Regions from separate parts of the Homo sapiens genome. Here region 2 is linked to region 1. Evidence: promoter capture Hi-C in human tissues and cell types (Jung and others, 2019). All regions are on one chromosome and are shown on one strand. The core of a region is centred on a gene start or on the middle of the fragment in contact, and the rest is flanking DNA. Distances in the headings are between cores, read along the strand shown. Region 1 overlaps CTNND1 (catenin delta 1). Region 2 holds the start of PRG2 (proteoglycan 2, pro eosinophil major basic protein).

Region 1 (3,296 bases), core at 734-3,233:
ATTCAAATAAATGATAAGTAGTAAGGATTTGGTTCTTTCTTTTTGATTAGCCTTTCCTGAATGCTTGTTACTTTCTAAGCCTGCAGACTTCAAAGAAAAAAATGTAGTTTTAATTAAATTGCAGGTGTTTTTAAAATTATTACCTTTTATTTTTACTAACCCATTGAGGAAAATTGATCAGTATATTATTCATGCAAAGGAGAGATAAGATGAGCACACTGAAACTCCAGTTAATCCTCCTTTGCAGATGAGGGTAATGGGAATGTCCAGGAAGCTAGCCATAATGACTTGATGTATTCTCTTGGTTCTTCCAAAACTTCTCAGGAGCTATGAAGACATGATTGGTGAGGAGGTGCCATCGGATCAATACTACTGGGCTCCTTTGGCCCAGCATGAGCGAGGAAGTTTAGCAAGCTTGGATAGCCTGCGCAAAGGAGGGCCTCCACCTCCTAATTGGAGACAGCCAGAGCTGCCAGAGGTGATCGCCATGCTTGGATTCCGCTTGGATGCTGTCAAGTCCAATGCAGCTGCATACCTGCAACACTTATGCTACCGCAATGACAAGGTGAAGACTGACGTGCGGAAGCTCAAGGGCATCCCAGTACTGGTGGGATTGTTAGACCATCCCAAAAAGGAAGTGCACCTTGGAGCCTGTGGAGCTCTCAAGAATATCTCTTTTGGACGTGACCAGGATAACAAGATTGCCATAAAAAACTGTGATGGTGTGCCTGCCCTTGTGCGATTGCTTCGAAAGGCTCGTGATATGGACCTTACTGAAGTTATTACCGGTGAGTTCTAGGCCTAAGGAAAATTGCTAAGTCAGTGTTACTCTCTAGTGATGTTGAGAACTAGAGGGATTTCCAGACCTTTTACTTTTGATGAAAGGTTGTGAACTGGTGGCTGTGGGTCAAATCCATCTCACAGATTTGTTTGGATCACACAGCATTATTGAAATTTTAAAGAACTGGTTGCTGATGTTTAAAATTCAGAAGATTTCACTTAAAATTCCAGATTCTTGGCTTCTATTAAAAACGTGGAAGAGTTGTTAACAATGGATCTCTTTTCTTCCTTAGCAGTATTTGGTCTGAACTGATTGGAGCATGTGCTCTCTAATTTACACTAATCTCCAACACATTCTATTATCTGACCAACTACAGCTGTTTAGGAAGTTGTTTCCCAAACATGGAGCTGTCAACTGCTATTTTTTCACATGCTTGTAATTTCTTTTAATTATCTTCCTCTCTTGACTCACCGGCTTGACCCATATAGACATTTAAGCTTGTGGTTCTTGCTTTATTTAGAGCAGTAGTTTTTCAGATTGTGGGTTGTGATCTATTTGTGTGATCCGTTAGTGAATAAAACAAAATTTTGTGGAGCATAATCAGCATTCCAAGGGAAAGGAATAAAGAAAAAGTAGTATAGACCATTGTTTCTCAGTTGTGGGCCATTTTGCCTGCCCTGCCCTGAGGACATTTGGACATTTGCAGTGTTGGAGATATTTTTGGTTGTTATAACTTGGAACAGGGGAGAGGGAGTGCTACTGGCATCTAGTGAGTAAAGGCCAGGGGTACTGGTAAACATCCAACAATAGACAAGACAGCTCCTCATAACAAAGAATCATCTGGCCGAAAATGTCAGTGGTGCTGAGGTTGAAAAACTCTGGTATAGACAGATCGGAGAGCATTGAGCATTGCTTATAGTTTTGTTTGTTTTTTTTGAGATGGAGTCTCGCTCTGTCACCCAGGCTGGAGTGCAGTGGCACAATCTCAGCTCACCGCAAGCTCCGCCTCATGGGTTCACGCCATTCTCCTGCCTCAGCCTCCCAAGTAGCTGGGACTACAGGTGCCCGCCACCACGCCCGGCTAATTTTTTGTATTTTTAGTGTTAGCCAGGATGGTCTTGATCTCCCAACCTTGTGATCCGCCCGCCTTGGCCTCCCAAATTGCTGGGATTACAGGCGTGAGCCACCACACCCAGCCTGAGCGTTGCTTATAGTTAAACATTGTTTGTTTCATGATCTGTATGTTTATTTTGAGCTATAATGTAGAATATGTTTCTTGGTGAGGGTCGCAAACAAAGCTTGAATATTACTATAAGGTATTTGGTCACTGGGGAAGACTGAGAAGTGATACGATAGGGGGATTCTCTTTGACGTTCTTCAGACATATTGTCTTGAATGCTCAAGAGCCATCTGATGAATTGTCTCTTCCAGGAACCCTGTGGAATCTTTCATCCCATGACTCAATCAAAATGGAGATTGTGGACCATGCACTGCATGCCTTGACAGATGAAGTGATCATTCCTCATTCTGGTTGGGAGCGGGAACCTAATGAAGACTGTAAGCCACGCCACATTGAGTGGGAATCGGTGCTCACCAACACAGCTGGCTGCCTTAGGTAACAGTAGGGACTTTGAGAATATGAAGATGAATTTTTGAGGACTGACTTAAATTTCCTAAAAAAAAAAAAAAATTAAAATTCTTTAGCCTATTCTTTAGCCTCCATTCCTATCTGTATTGCATACTGTAACTCCAACCTTTCTATCTTTGTTGCTATTCTCTCATGTATACCACATGTACCTATATCAGTTTTCTTGCTGTTCCCCACACATCCTCTTCACTTTTATGCCTCTTTGACTTTGTTCATCTACTTTGGTAAGCTTTTGTTCAGCATCTACCACATGTAAGGTGGTCTAGTCCTGGACTTGTGTGTGTCTATGTCCTTGCCCTAGTTATTTGTATTTCAAGTCAGGCTGTGATAAATTCAGCAAAAGGGGTACAGAGTACTAGGAGGTTAGGGCATGGGTGAGGAAGGTCTGTTCTTTCTGTGATGCCTTTCTCTTCTTATTTATCTTTTTGTGGTTAAACTCAAGTGCCTTTATTTTATTAAAGTTTTCCTGAATTCTTTTTATATCCTATAAATGCTGCTATATAATCTTTCTCTCTTTGGAATACACCTCTGTGTGCTGTGTTCCATTCTACATATGTATTATATACTTCCATACGAGAAGTATATATTCCATCTTGAATTACTGCATCTGGTACATATCATTAATCCCTACCCCACAGTGATATAAACATTCAGAAGGCAGGGACTGTTAATCAACTTTCTCTCAACTGCAGTACCTTGCTTATAATAGGTATTTACTATTACAGTGAGTAGAAAAACATATTCAGGAATCTTGTAGGTGTTGAGGGATATTTAAGGGAGGATTTCTGGATTTGAGTCATCTTGAAGCTTCTGGTTTCCCCTCAGGAATGTAAGCTCAGAGAGGAGTGAAGCTCGCCGGAAACTTCG
Region 2 (3,549 bases), core at 659-3,158, 410 kb before region 1:
ATCCTTCCTACATGAATTCACATGGGTCTTGAGTCCCCACAATTCATTCCCTCCCTCCCCTGCCACAACCATTTGAAGGTTGGAGACCAAAATGCAACTTCTGTTTGTAGGTGGCCCTCCCCTCTTACCCCAACACCTCTCTGAGGCTCAGGTTCTACTGACACCCCCAGGGCCCTCAATGGGAAAAAGAGCCAGTGATAGCAATGCTGGGGGCATATCCCACACCCGTTCCATGCTCCCACCTCAGCCTCAGCCATAGGCCACTCACCCAAGCTTGACTAAACGTCTGAAGACTTCTCACCAGGAGGTAGCGGCAGGTCTGGCACCCAGGGATGCCCACCACTTTTACTGTGTCCTCTTCCTCAGGACACGTAAGGTTTTTGTCCACCATATCTGGCACTGAGATAGACTCAACAGCCCCATCTTTCTTGGAGGCATCTTCACTTCCAGAGCCCCACTCCTCCTCTTCCTCCAGCTCCCTGCAAGGGGTCTCCTCCATCTCCTGCTCTGGTGTCTCCTCATCCTCAGGCAGCGTCTTAGCACCCAAAGGGGTCTCAAAGGTGGAAGTCTCAGACCCTGGCAGGGAGGATAGCTAAGTGTCCTTCCTTCACATCTCCCCTTGTTCCTCCCCAGAACCACAGACAGCTCACACCTTGCCCTGGGCATCAGAGTGCTCAACTCTGCCTGGGAAGGGGAACCTGGAACCCAGTCTCTATGAGGGGAACCCAAGCTGCCTGACAAGGTCAAGGTGGTTAAGAGCATGGACTTAGAGTCGGGCAGTCATGGGCTTGGGTACTGGTTCCATCATCCACCAGCTGTATTTCTGTGAAATGGGTATACAATACCACCTACTTCATGGCGATGCTAAGAGAGTTAAAGGAGAGAAGGCACTCAGTAAGCTCAAAGTAAGCATAATGGAGAAAGGACAAAATTGGGAATGTCACAGTAGAACCAAGACCACAGACATAACAGACGCCTTGAGAAATCCTTTCAACTCCTGGCCATAGAGTCCCCATCCCTTTAAGCACACAGAAATTCAGAAATAGAAGACGATCAAAGAAGGGGGTGGGTGTGTAACTCTGACCCCATCTACCATAGAAAGGGAAAAAACAGAGAAAGAAAGACTGAAGGCAAAAAACACTTACTTAGATGAAGAGCAGAAACTGCCCCAAATAGAAGAGCCAGAAGTAAGGGGAGTTTCATCTTGGCTTTATCCTGCAACGGAGAACACAGTTTGTCATTGACACACACAGACACACATGCACACACATCACAATCACACCATTAGGGGACCGTGGGAGTGAGGTGGAGAAAAAGAAGGCCTGAATAGAAATCAGGATGGGCCAGAAAAGCTCATGCCAAGCCCAGCTCCTGATGCTCCAGGATCCAGGACGCAAGGACCTCTTTCTAAACAGAACGCAGCAAACCCTGAGGGGTGGCTGAGGCTGGCTTTCCTTCAGGCCCGGAAGTAAAGAAGGGACTATTACGCTTATTTGTTTGTACTTAATGGGTCCCTCAGAGTCTATGACATAAAAAAGGCGGGAGAAGCAATGATTATTGGCTTTCCTAGGAACACATAGGACTTAGAAGGTATGTCCCCTCCTCAGAGTTCAAGAAGCCACCCACACCCTCCTCCATGTCTCCACCATCTCCTTTCCCCAGCCAAGGAGCACTTTCACATCCCGCAGAAGGAATGTGCAAGGCAGAGGATGAAGGCTGCCCCTGCTGACATCCTCATAACCTGAAAGCCACAGGTAGACGCCTGCCAGCCCTCCAGAAACTGTCAGCCACAGCCAGGGACCTCCTGGGAGAATAAACTGTCACCAGCTCCACCACAGCAGAGAAAGCACTCACCCACCCAGAGACCTTCCTGGGTCTTTAGATCTTCCCAAAGCCCAGGTCCTTCTTTGCTTCCTCTCACAAAGACTTCTTATATAGAGGCCTTGGAGGAACTTCCCCCAGGGAGAGAGAGTTTGCCTCTGTCAGAGGGAGATAGCAAGGCTGATAAGGACCATTTCATCACTTCCCTGGGGAGCCCACTCATTCATTCAGTGAAGATTTCTCTCCCGATACCCACTTCAGGAACCCAGGGGCCATCTGGAACAGCTCTGGGCAATGGTTCTTATCCTGGGCTACACTTCAGAATCGCCTTGGGTGCTTTTCCAAAATACATATCTCCCCTGTTTTACTGGTGTTTTGAACTGCCACAAACATTTTGAGAACAAATCTGTCCATACCTATTAAAATAAAAAAATGCACATTTGATCAGTTTCACTCTTTTGAGACTATCCTTTAGGCATAAATGCGCCTATAAGTAATAAAACTTTTACAGAGTTATGTTATTCCTTGACTATTTGTAGAAATGAAAACAATATTGATATCCATCAATCGGACACTGAGTAAAATGTGTCCTCTCTATTCTACAGAATGTTATATGGCTATGAAAAGAAGAGCTGGACCTGTATCTATAAACCTGAAGAGATGTTTCTGTGACATGAAGTGAAAAAAGGCAAGATACTGAGGAAAGTATTTAGTATGTGAATAGTTTTACAAGGAAAAAAAAAACCCCCGCATAGGTGCTTATCTGTGAGCATCCTTATGTGACCATTGATGGAGGGAATGCTAAAAGGAATCACACCAAATAGTTGACCTTGTTGCCTCCAGAAGCAGGGGAGGAGAGGGAAGAAAGCAGGAGACAGATTGTTGTTTATCTTCTTTTTATAACTTTGCATTTCTTCAGTGGTTATGGTAAATGCGTGCTGAATCTGTAATTTTGAGGCTGCCTTATTAAAGATTTTTAAAAATATGCAGATGCCCTGCCCAGAAACTTCTGCTTGGCTAATAGGTCTAGCGTGAAGGTCAGATGTCTGCATTTTTTTAAAAGCTTCCCAGCTGACTGTGATGGAAGATGGGTCTAGGAGTCACTGTCCTGAGGATCTTCAAGTACAGGAAATGTTCACGTATGTCTAACTTCTTTCCTTCTGAATCAGACCACTCAGTTGGCCAACCTACCAGCCTTCATTATGGTAACATTTACTGAACATTTTTAAATGCCATGCATGGCAAGTGGCTGGATGCAGTGGCTCATGCCTGTGATCCCAGCACTTTGGGAGGCTGAGGTGGGTGGATCTTTTGAGGTCAGGAGGTTGAGACCAGCCTGGTCAACATTGCAAAGCCTTGTCTCTACTAAAAATACAAAAATTAGTCAGGCATAGGGGTGGCTGCCTGTAATCCCAGCTACTTGGGAGTCTGAGGCAGGAGAATCACTTGAACCCAGGAAGTAGAGGTTGCAGTGAGCTGAGATTGCACCACTGCACTCCAGCTTGGGCGAGAGAGTGAGACTCCGTTTCAATCAATCATCAATCAACAAAATACTGTTCATGGCAAGTATTACCTCATTTAACCTGATTTTAAAAACCTAGTGAGGTAGGTGGTTGATACCCCATTTTCCAAGTGAGACAACCCAGGCTCTGTGTGGCTCCTGATCTCCCCGCAACACTGCCCTTATTGGATCGATGCCCTGTATACACCCTCTTGTAGCTCCAGGGG

Evidence for each region. Contacts are between HindIII fragments. The study calls those that stand out against the background at their distance.
Region 2: the fragment with the promoter of PRG2 here is called in contact with a fragment that was not itself captured in region 1 in 1 of the 25 tissues and cell types used here (spleen).

What each region holds. Positions count from the first base shown.
Region 1 is chr11:57,801,409-57,804,704 of GRCh38, forward strand. It overlaps CTNND1 (catenin delta 1), which reads left to right. Exons shown (of 21, transcript NM_001085458.2): 7 at 325-788; 8 at 2,213-2,396; 9 at 3,255-3,296. It overlaps TMX2-CTNND1 (TMX2-CTNND1 readthrough (NMD candidate)), which reads left to right. Exons shown (of 21, transcript NR_037646.1): 8 at 325-788; 9 at 2,213-2,396; 10 at 3,255-3,296. Among named protein-coding and RNA genes, the nearest start is that of CTNND1, 41 kb to the left of the region's middle. The HindIII fragment of the contact is 3,742 bases long and covers 113-3,296 here.
Region 2 is chr11:57,388,742-57,392,290 of GRCh38, forward strand. PRG2 (proteoglycan 2, pro eosinophil major basic protein) reads right to left here and starts at 1,909. Exons shown (of 6, transcript NM_002728.6): 1 at 1,855-1,909; 2 at 1,146-1,215; 3 at 269-576. The coding sequence starts at 1,203. The HindIII fragment of the contact is 9,070 bases long and covers 1-3,549 here.